Linked DNA regions of Homo sapiens: region 2 is linked to region 1. The links are contacts of gene promoters, found by promoter capture Hi-C in human tissues and cell types (Jung and others, 2019). All regions are on one chromosome and are shown on one strand. Each heading gives the region's core, a stretch centred on a gene start or on the middle of the fragment in contact. The rest is flanking DNA. Distances are from core to core; before and after follow the strand shown.

What was found. Contacts are between HindIII fragments. The study calls those that stand out against the background at their distance.
Region 2: the fragment with the promoter of OR1L4 here is called in contact with the fragment with the promoter of OR1K1 in region 1 in 3 of the 25 tissues and cell types used here (heart right ventricle, liver and mesendoderm cells).

What each region holds. Positions count from the first base shown.
Region 1 is chr9:122,797,429-122,803,424 of GRCh38, forward strand. OR1K1 (olfactory receptor family 1 subfamily K member 1) reads left to right here and starts at 2,695. Exons shown (of 1, transcript NM_080859.1): 1 at 2,695-3,645. The coding sequence starts at 2,695. The coding sequence ends at 3,645. RefSeq lists an enhancer at 5,503-5,996. The HindIII fragment of the contact is 19,122 bases long and covers 1-5,996 here.
Region 2 is chr9:122,720,585-122,726,580 of GRCh38, forward strand. OR1L4 (olfactory receptor family 1 subfamily L member 4) reads left to right here and starts at 3,406. Exons shown (of 1, transcript NM_001005235.1): 1 at 3,406-4,341. The coding sequence starts at 3,406. The coding sequence ends at 4,341. The HindIII fragment of the contact is 15,967 bases long and covers 1-5,996 here.

The DNA of each region.
Region 1 (5,996 bases), core at 1,445-3,944:
TCCTATGATGTGCAGAACCCAGAGGGTACACCTGGGGACAAGGGGCCAGGCTGCAGAGTGTGCAGATCTGTCTTCCTGTGTGTGACTGTGTGCATGAGTCATATGTGTGAGTATAAGAGTATGTGCTGTTTGCGAGGCTGTGATTATTACCAGCACTGCACAATCGTTTCATTGTAGGGGGTAGGAGGCAGTGTGTATGTGCATATGCCCCTCTAGCATGGCACATCTCTGCCATGATCCACCATGAACCTACGTGAGTGCAGCCGTGTATGTGAAGGTGTGAGGCTGTGTGCAAAGATGTGATTGTATGATCACTGAGGGGATTGGGTGTGGCTGGGCATGCATGGATGGGCACTGGGCAGAGTGCTCACACACAGTAAGCAGTCAATGAGAACATGAATGTGCATGATGGGTCACAGCAGCTGTGCATGGCGCTATGTCTCCATCAAGAGGAGTATGTGAATGATTGTCACCCTCTGGCCTTAGTGCCATTTTGTGATTGCATTTGGCCATGTGTGTATGTGTATGACGATCTTGGCTTCTGAATCCTGAGGTAATGGTTGTCTGCCTACTTTGCTGTGAATGCATGTGCTGGCTCCACATTTCTGTATATGACTGATTGTGCCTATGTATTTGCAGAGACCAGCTTGAGGATGCACATGTCTGCGTGCCTGCATGTGCGTTTCCAACTACATTTGAATGTTTCTACAAACATCTTTGTATATTTGAACGCTTCTTGGGACCAATTTAGACACAGGTCAGAGCAGGTCCATTTTCCAAAAGCAATTCTATAAACAGGTTTCCCCTTCCATCCTACCCAATCATCCTGATCCTCTTCCCCTCCAGGAAAGTGAGAAAGAATTAGGGGCTTAAGAAAAGATGCTTTAGAGGAAGCTAACGCCAGAGATTCTTCTTAACCAATGGAGGAAAAAAGGAATACGATAGGGTAGGGAGGTCCTTCATTGATTTTTTTTTAATAGAGAAAGATGTGGAAATAAATTAAAAGATCATTTCCCTGTAAAGGTGGTTTCAGCACAGTCTTCAGCAAACCTGTGCCCTAAAATTCCTCTCAGTTACTTCAATTCTCTTCTTACAGAATTGCCCAAGATTTCTGCAATGAAATTCAGACAGGAAAAAAACTGAGACATTGAAAACAAGTTGCCTCTCTCCTTAAGAGTCAAGTCGCTATGCCTGGGCAGATGTGTCCATCTGTCCACAGGAGTTTCTCACCCTGTGATGTGCATCTGCTTGGTGCTCAGTAAGTGTTTGATTTCATGGGGAAAGTTTTCAGGGATATGAGGAGTCATTCAGATTCTCTTGTTCTTTTTTTGTGTGTGTGTGAGATGGAGTCTCACTGTGCCACCCAGGCTGGAGTGCAGTGGCACGATCTTGGCTCACTGCAACCTCTGCCTCCTGGGTTCAAGATATTCTCCTGCCCCAGCCTCCCAAGTAGCTGGGATTACAGGCACGTGACACCACACCTGGCTAATTTTTGTATTTTTTTTTTTAGTAGAGATGGGGTTTCACCACATTGGCCAGGCTGGTCTCAAACTCCTGACCTCAGGTGATCCTCCTACCTTGGCCTCCCAAAGTGCTGGGATTACAGGCACGAGCCACTGCACCCGGCCTTGTTTTGTGTTTTAAGTCTGAAAATATCTGTATTCTTTACTCACACTTGAGTAGTATTTTTGCTGAGTGAAGAATTCCAAGTTCGAAATGCTTTTTTTCAGAATTTGAATATTGTTAAACTGTTCTATAATCTACTGTTGAATTGAAACATTTGATGGCAATCTAATTACATGGATATCATCAGTTCATTGCACCCCATGCCCTTAGGAAGTACTGGAGTCTCCTCTTCATTTCCAGTGTTCTAAAATTCCACTATTTGTGTCTAGGTGTTGTGAGTTCATATTCATTTCAATGTAAACATATGTGCTCTTCAGATTTTTTTTCTAGAGTTTCTTTCTTATGTTTCTCTCCTCCATCTTGGTTTGGTTTCATTTTTTCTTTTCCAAAATAAATGTCCATTGGCCAGATCTTTCTGTGTCGAACCTCACTCTGTTTCATCTTTTCTTTCATATTTTCCTCCTTCCCTGATCTACATCTTGTGCAATATCTTTTGTTCTATTTTTGCTTAAATCACAAACTATCAAAGTTGGACGTGACCTTGCAGATGAGTTACTTCAATTCTCTTATTTCGCAGGTTGAAAGTCTAAGGCCCCACAAGGTCAGGAGATCGAGAACATCCTGGCTAACACGGTGAAACCCCGTCTCTACTAAAAAATACAAAAAAAATTAGCCGGGCGTGATGGCGGGCGCCTGTAGTCCCAGCTACTCGGGAGGCTGAGGCAGGAGAATGGCGTGAACCCAGGAGGTGGAGCTTGCAGTGAGCTGAGATCGTGCCACTGCACTCCAGCCTGGGCGACAGAGCAAGACTCCATCTCAAAAAAAAAAAAAAAAAAAGAAAAGAAAATCTAAGGCCCAGAAAGGAAGAAGGTTCAGGGAGGTGAAATGACTTGCCCATAGTCATACCTGTGCCTAGGGCCAGGGCTACCTGACTCTAAACTCTTGATATTTTCCCATGGCCAGGAAGCCTTGAACAATTTATCCCCTCACCTTTTCCGTTAGACATCGGGGAGGTGACCCATCAATAGAAAGGAGCCCTTCAGGTTCCAGGCGAATAACCAGCCTGCCATGGAGGCTGCCAATGAGTCTTCAGAGGGAATCTCATTCGTTTTATTGGGACTGACAACAAGTCCTGGACAGCAGCGGCCTCTCTTTGTGCTGTTCTTGCTCTTGTATGTGGCCAGCCTCCTGGGTAATGGACTCATTGTGGCTGCCATCCAGGCCAGTCCAGCCCTTCATGCACCCATGTACTTCCTGCTGGCCCACCTGTCCTTTGCTGACCTCTGCTTCGCCTCCGTCACTGTGCCCAAGATGTTGGCCAACTTGTTGGCCCATGACCACTCCATCTCGCTGGCTGGCTGCCTGACCCAAATGTACTTCTTCTTTGCCCTGGGGGTAACTGATAGCTGTCTTCTGGCGGCCATGGCCTATGACTGCTACGTGGCCATCCGGCACCCCCTCCCCTATGCCACGAGGATGTCCCGGGCCATGTGCGCAGCCCTGGTGGGAATGGCATGGCTGGTGTCCCACGTCCACTCCCTCCTGTATATCCTGCTCATGGCTCGCTTGTCCTTCTGTGCTTCCCACCAAGTGCCCCACTTCTTCTGTGACCACCAGCCTCTCTTAAGGCTCTCGTGCTCTGACACCCACCACATCCAGCTGCTCATCTTCACCGAGGGCGCCGCAGTGGTGGTCACTCCCTTCCTGCTCATCCTCGCCTCCTATGGGGCCATCGCAGCTGCCGTGCTCCAGCTGCCCTCAGCCTCTGGGAGGCTCCGGGCTGTGTCCACCTGTGGCTCCCACCTGGCTGTGGTGAGCCTCTTCTATGGGACAGTCATTGCAGTCTACTTCCAGGCCACATCCCGACGCGAGGCAGAGTGGGGCCGTGTGGCCACTGTCATGTACACTGTAGTCACCCCCATGCTGAACCCCATCATCTACAGCCTCTGGAATCGCGATGTACAGGGGGCACTCCGAGCCCTTCTCATTGGGCGAAGGATCTCAGCTAGTGACTCCTGAGGGCAGGACCCCACTGAGGACAGACTGCATCACCCACACTGGCAACTGTTGAACGTGACCCTCTGTCCTCTGCTATGCTCAAAAATCATAACAGCTGTCATTTCCTGAGCACCTGCCCGGAAGCAGATCCTTGCCTGATCTCATTTTATTCCCACAGCCACCCAGGATGCAGATATTATGATCCGGTTTTACACACAAGAAAATTTGTCTTTAGGCTCAAAGATAAGAAGTGACTTTCCAGCCAGGCACAGCGGCTCACGCCTGTAATCCCAGCACTTTGAGAAGCCGAGGTGGTGGATCACCTGAGGTCGAGAGTTCAAGATCAGCCTGGCCAACATGGCGAAACCCTGTCTCTATTACAAATACCAAAATTAGCCAAGCATGGCGGCGCACAACTGTAATCCCATCTACTCGGGAGACTGAGGCAAGAGAATCACTTGAACCCAAAAGATGAAGATTGAAGTGAGCTAAGATTGTGCCACTGAGCTCCAGCCTGGGCAACAGAGCAAGACTCCATCTCAAAAAAAAAAGAAGTGACTTTCTCAAATTCACACAGTTCTTAGAAAGCAAAACCTGCACCCCTTCTGCCACATCATGCTCTTCTGATGATCACTCTTAGGCATTTAGAATGCATTCCACCATTTCCTACAGACCGAGGGCAATCCAGGAGGGTGTGACATCCGCAGAACATGCCTTGTGTGGATGAGCACTTTCTCTTCAGTCATATGGCCATGTGTTCTCAAATAAATTGACTTCTCAACTGGGACTGGAATAGAGAAATTCACACACTCATGTGTGAAGGGCCAGCCCCTCCTAATGAGCTCAGTGTGGCACACAGGAGGCCCTCTGCACATCTAATATGAATAAATGACTCTGTGTTCATACTAACATGCATTTAGAAGAAGTCCGTTCTTCTAATTCTTTGTTCTTTCCCTTGTTTGCTATCATGGCACCTGTTCTGCCCCACCTGGCATTCTGTAGAAGGAGCACGTTGTGGACACGCACAGTCATGAATAAACAAAGCAAAGCTGAGAAGGAGGAGGCATAGGTGTTAGGGGCAGATGGAGCAAGCATTGGATAAGTCTTTATCGTATGCCAGCACTTCACTTATTTTTACCCACAAAAAGTATGGGTACTCTTATTGCCACTTTATGAATGAGGAAACTGAGGCTCAAAGCTGGTAACCTAGTCAGTGTCAGAGCCAGAACAAGCCCTTATGCCACATGGGTCATGCAGGTGTGTTTTAATGGGCCCCATAGAATCCACACGCCAGGTTTTGGTGTCTCAGTGGAAGCACTTGCAGGAAGAAGTCTCAGACCAGGGCAGGTTCGCTGCCTCAAGTAAGGACACATTTTGGGGTCTGAAAAGGCCTCATGGTGCCCAAGTTTTTACCAAACAGGTATGTGAGGCAGGAGCTTTTAGGTCTCTGTTTCTCTAAGAAATCTGCACCCACTTCCCCATCCCCTAGTCCCAACTCCACTCCTACCCCCATTCCGCTGCTCCAGAGAGAAGGAGAGAGAGCTACAGCGATCCTAGAGCCAGGTTAGCAATAGCCCCTTCCAGATCACACAGGTGAGCTGCCACCGCCCAGTCCCAGAGCTGCTACACTATGCTGTTTAGATCAAAAAGGACCTTAAAGGTCTTTAGACTGGTAGCTTTAATCAAAAAAAAAAAAAAAAAAAAAAAAACCAAAACAAACAGAAAACAACAACAAAAACACGTTATTTACATAGAAACACAATCTGTAAAACAGGGTGGGGGAGAAGCCATGCAGTGTGGATGAGGGAGGGTGAAAGGAGGCCCAGAATCCACCGTCGATGCTTCTCCCCACCCCCACTTTGAAAGGTCTTTGATCAAACCGAACACCTTCACTTGATAAATGGGGAAACTGAGGCCCAGAGTGGTTAAGGGACCTGCTCAAGATCACACAAAGTCAGTGGCAAACTTCGGGCTTCCTTGTTCAACCTGCCAGTGCCCCAAAGCCTGGCCCTGCCATGACATAGAGACCATCCTTTCCCAGCCTCCCTTCCTCCCTCCCACGCCCAGGTTATTTGTTTGTGCTGTGATGCCAGATCCTTGCTACTCTGTCAATAACTTGTCCCCTGGCCCCATGATCGACTTCCTCCGCTCTGCCTTCTCTAAAGCTTCAAAAACATACCGGCCATGATGCACATTCACTTGTGCCTGGAAACACCTGCACCACCAGCCCTGCCCTATGGCTTGGAGTCAGCTGCTGACCATCAGGGTCCTTGCGTGAGGCATCTCTGGGTCCCTTGAACCTAGCACAGAGAACATGCCTGTGACGTGCTGTGGCCTTGTGCGTCTCATGATCTTCCAGGTGAGTCATCCGC
Region 2 (5,996 bases), core at 2,156-4,655, 76 kb before region 1:
ACTCATCATTAAAATGTCATTTCTCTAGCTTATTGTTTGAGCAATAATACTAACCACGTGTATTAGGGTTTGACAAACTGTCACTCAACTGTCACTTGAGTCTCCAAATGACAGTGGCAGGCGGGGAAGAACAGCACACACACAAAAATCAGCCTCTACCCCACACACACACCCCATCTTATTAATAGATATACAGAACTGTAATGACTTGCCCAAGACATGAGAAAATATACAATGTTGTCAGATCCAGTTAAACGGGAAGGGACTAAGCTACTACCTCTGAGGCAAACATCACACTGATCTTAGAAACTCCAAGTTCAAGTCCAAAGGAAATCATAGCCCTTCACCCCCAGCAAACACAATGTCCCAGGAGTGAGGCTGAAAGAGACAGAGAAGAAACTGGGGAAAGAGTCCAGAGAGTCAAATAGATACATTCCCCAGGAGTAGGATGAAGGGTAGTTATCTCGGGTTGTAAGTATCTATTAAGATTTTCAATGTTTATAAATTCCAACTTTGCAATTTGTATCTCAGAATCTATTCCACGCCTTAGAAATTATCTGATGAGTGCAATACACACAAAAACATCCATTGTAACAGTCTGTGGGGGATAGTATGGCTCCAATACAATATATAGTGTGCATATAGATCTATGGAGAGAAAAAGTTGGCTGGGGGATGAAATTGTTCAGAACTTTCACCCTTTTAATTATAAAATTCATGTAAAAAATCACGTGTTCATTATTTTTAAATACAAGCAATATAATCTTACCACACCAAAAAAATGATAACTATGTGAGAGAGCACATATGTTAAATAGCTCAATTTAGCCATTCCACAATGTATACATATTTCAAAACATCATGTTGTGCACTATAGATATATACAACTTTTGTCCATTAAATAAATAAATATATATGTAATATAAAGTTAAATGTGGAAGTTACTTCTCACACCAACCCACTTCAAGAGGCAGCCATATACACATAAACACACACACCAAAGTAAACACAATATATAAGAGTTATTTTTTGTTACAAAAATAGGATTATTCTATATGCATTGTTCTGCAACTTACTTTTGTCACTTAGTAAAACATCAAACAGTGGTATAATAGTGATGGCATCACTTGGCAATAAATGGCTCCAGCTCTGCCATCAGACTGCCTGAATTCAAATTTCAGCTCTACCACTTACTCATGGCGGGATCTGGTAAGTTACTCAACTTGGCTAAACTCTAACTTTTAATCTATAAAATTGGAATATAGTGCCTATCACTTAGGATTTGGGGAGAATACAGTGATTTTTAAAAACAGACAAAGCACCTAGCTCAGTATGTGGCATGTACTGAGTGCTAATAATTGTTGGCTAACATGAACCATCTTATTTCTTTAGAGAGTGCATGCTATTGAGTAACAGGAACTGCACCATAAATTGTTTAGTCTTTCACCTACATGTGCATATTGAGATTGTTCCCTCTATGGGTTGCTTTGTTTATTTGGTTGGTTTGGTTGGTATTACAAGCAACACATACTGTGTACTACACAAATATGACTACTTCTAAAGGATAGAGTGCTATAAGTAGAATCATTGGATAAAGAGATGCAGATTTCCAACTCTTGACAGAGATGGCCAAAAGGCCTACACTGATTCACACTTTCAGCATATGTGAAGGTCTATTTTCCTTTGGATATGATCCCCAAAAATGTAGTGCCAATCTGATAACTTATTTTTATTTGTGAGTTACAAAGAAGTTTAGGCTTATTTTTTCCCAAATGTTCCAGTTGTCATAAATAGCATTTATTTTATAGCCCATTCTTTTTCCATTGCTATGAAATAAATCTTTATTATATGTTAAGTTTAATATAGATCATGATCTAAATATAGGCATATAGATATACAAAATGCTTTATATTGGTCAGTTTTTTATTTTTCCCTATGTGTGTCATTATCTTATTGATTATCAATATACTGTGCTTTTATGTGGGGTTAAAAAAGTTTCCCATCATTATTCTAATGTTTCCAAAATAATGTTGTCTGTCTCTAGCCATGTAATACTCTAGATGAATTTTAGAATAATCTTTTCAACTTCCATTAAAAATTCCCTTCAGGTCTTATTAGAAGTACACTGAATTTTATTAATAAGGATTCATATTTTAAAATATAGTCTTCCTTTTCAGGAGTATAGTTCTCCACATATTCAGATATTCATTTTGTGTTCTATTATAGTTTCTTCTGATAGGTCTTACTCATTCTTTTATTTTGTCCCTCAGGTTAATTTCTAAGTATCACTTAGACTTTCTTGCCATTATCAATTGAAACCTTTTCTTCATTACATTTGTCTAATACAGAAAGATAATTAATACTTTTAGTTTTATAGCGCATCTGGCCACTGGTGAAATTGCCATAGGTTTTAAAAGATTTTCAAATAATTATCTTGAATTTTTTGGTACACAATCGTGCCACAAAAAAATGACATTTTCTTCTTTTTTAATGTTTATGCCTCCTGATGCTTTAGTTTTGCTTTGTTACTCACTCAGTCAACCATCTCAGCAATGTAGCTTAATATTGGTCATAGGGCTATCTTTGCCTTCTCTTTCCATGATATTGGTGGAAATAGGACTCTTACAGTCTATGTTTTATAGTCCTGCAATATTTGAATGTTGAGAATGAGGACTTCATAGTGTTTTAACCAGAAAAATTAATATATTCAAAGAACTAATCTTGCTTACATAGGCTATTTCTGGGAGTACTCTAATTTTAACTGGTATCCTTGGGCCAAAAGATGATAAAGCATCAGATCATATTAGCCAAAGAGAAATGCTTAAATAAACATTAGAAATGTTTTTCTGAAGATGAAAGAAAGTATTATCTGAATTCTGCAATTACCAAGGAGCCTTGATTAATTCTGTTGCTTAGTTTTGTTCTATCCCAACTACTACTACCATCTATGGACCTATGAGCAAGAGAGAATGCTGAAAGAGATAACTTCATTCATAGGGATTCCTTGTATGACAGCATTCTAATTCTAAGTAGAATCCAGCAACCTCTTCCCCGGGACAAAAAAGACAATAATAAGACTAAGGAGATGGTCAAGAAACAACCTCAGAATAATCTTTACAAAAGGAAATGAGAAGAACTCAAACAAATTAGGCCACATAGAAGTTCCTATGAGCACATGGAAAACCTTTAGTTTCTAATTTAGAAGACAGCTTGGCATCCTTTAACTTTTCTTTTGTTGAATTTTACTATCTGTTTCTATGTAGTTTCAGAATTAAATGTTCTTTCGAAGTATAATAGCAGTAAGATTTTTAAAATAGATTTGAGGTGGGGAAGAAGCTGTCTTGGTCAAACTGTCCTTTACATCTCTCCCATTGCTTCTCTAAACCCTATCCAGGAAGTCCAGAGACATGGAGACAAAGAATTATAGCAGCAGCACCTCAGGCTTCATCCTCCTGGGCCTCTCTTCCAACCCTAAGCTGCAGAAACCTCTCTTTGCCATCTTCCTCATCATGTACCTACTCACTGCGGTGGGGAATGTGCTCATCATCCTGGCCATCTACTCTGACCCCAGGCTCCACACCCCTATGTACTTTTTTCTCAGCAACTTGTCTTTCATGGATATCTGCTTCACAACAGTCATAGTGCCTAAGATGCTGGTGAATTTTCTATCAGAGACAAAGATTATCTCTTATGTGGGCTGCCTGATCCAGATGTACTTCTTCATGGCATTTGGGAACACTGACAGCTACCTGCTGGCCTCTATGGCCATCGACCGGCTGGTGGCCATCTGCAACCCCTTACACTATGATGTGGTTATGAAACCATGGCATTGCCTACTCATGCTATTGGGTTCTTGCAGCATCTCCCACCTACATTCCCTGTTCCGCGTGCTACTTATGTCTCGCTTGTCTTTCTGTGCCTCTCACATCATTAAGCACTTTTTCTGTGACACCCAGCCTGTGCTAAAGCTCTCCTGCTCTGACACATCCTCCAGCCAGATGGTGGTGATGACTGAGACCTTAGCTGTCATTGTGACCCCCTTCCTGTGTACCATCTTCTCCTACCTGCAAATCATCGTCACTGTGCTCAGAATCCCCTCTGCAGCCGGGAAGTGGAAGGCCTTCTCTACCTGTGGCTCCCACCTCACTGTAGTGGTCCTGTTCTATGGGAGTGTCATCTATGTCTATTTTAGGCCTCTGTCCATGTACTCAGTGATGAAGGGCCGGGTAGCCACAGTTATGTACACAGTAGTGACACCCATGCTGAACCCTTTCATCTACAGCCTGAGGAACAAAGATATGAAAAGGGGTTTGAAGAAATTAAGACACAGAATTTACTCATAGAAAGAACAAAATGTTGGCATGTCAAAATCAGGACATGACCTAAAAGATTATTATCAGTTTATCCTCCCTTCCTAACCCTTTTCCACATGGCATTCAAAGAGGTCATGAAAAGTGGTGTTGGATATCAGTAAGAGAATTAACCTGGGAGCAAAACACTCAGTTTCTTTATATATATATATATATATATGTATACACACACACACATATATATATACACACATACTTTAAGTTCTGGGATACATGTGCAGAACGTGCAGGTTCATTACATAGGTATACACGTGCCATGGTGGTTTGCTGCACCCATCAACCTGTCATCTACATTAGGTATTTCTCCTAATGCAATCCTTCTCCTAGCTCCCCACCCCCTGGCAGGCCCCAGTGTGTGATGTTCCCCTCCCTTTGTCCGTGTGTTCTCATTGTTCAACTCCCACTTATGAGTGAGAACATGTGGTGTTTGGTTTTCTGTTCTTGAGTTAGTTTGCTGAGAATGATGGCTTCCAGGTTCATCCATGTCCCTGCAAAGCACATGAACTCATCCTTTTTTTAATGGCTGGATAGTATTACATGGTGTATATGTGCCAGATTTTCTTTATCCAGTCTATCATTGATGGGCATTTGGGTTGGTTCCAAGTCTTTGCTATTGTGAATAGTGCCACAATAAACATACGTGTGCATGTGTCTTTATAGCAGAATGACTTATAATCCTTTGGGTATATACCCAGTAATGGGATTGCTGGGTCAAATGGTATTTCTGGTTCTAGATCCCTGAGGAATCGCCACACTGTCTTCCACAATGGTTGAACTAATTTACATCCCCATCAACAGTGTAAAAGCCTTCCTATTTCCCCACATCCTCTCCAGCATCTGTTGTTTCCTGACTTGTTAATGATCCCCATTCTAACTGGCATGAGATGGTATCTCAATGTGGTTTTGATTTGCATTTCTCTAATGACCAGTGATGATGAGCTTTTCTTCATATGTTGCTGGCCGCATAAATGTCTTCTTTTGAGAAGTGTCCATTCATATCCTTCGCCCACTTTTTGATGCGGTTGTTTTTTTTCTTGTAAATTTGTTTAAGATCCTTATAGATTCTGGATATTAGCCCTTTGTCAGATGGATAGATTGCAAAAATTTTTTCCCGTTTTGGGCCAGGCACTGTGGCTTACACCTGTAATCCCAGCACTTTGGGAGGCTGAGGCGGGCAGATCATGAGGTCAGGAGATCAAGTCCATCCTGGCTAACACAGTGAAACCCCATCTCTACTAAAAATACAAAAACAAAAATTAGCCGGGCATGGTGGTGTGCACCTGTAGTCCCAGCTACTCGGGAGGCTGAGGCAGGAGAATTGCTTGAACTTGGGAGGCAGACATTGCAGTGAGCCGAGATCGTGCCACTGCACTCCAGCTTGGGCAACAGAGCGAGACACCATCACAAAAAAAAAAATTCTCCCATTCTGTAGGTTGCCTGTTCACTCTGATGATAGTTTCTTTTGCTGTGCAAAAGCTCTTTAGTTTAATTAGATCCCATTTGTCAATTTTGGCTTTTGTTGCCACTGCTTTTGAAAAACACTCAGATTCTATCCATGACTTTGACCAAATACATATTTAATCTCAGGCTAGGTACTGATAGGAATCCATATTTTAGGAAAACCACTT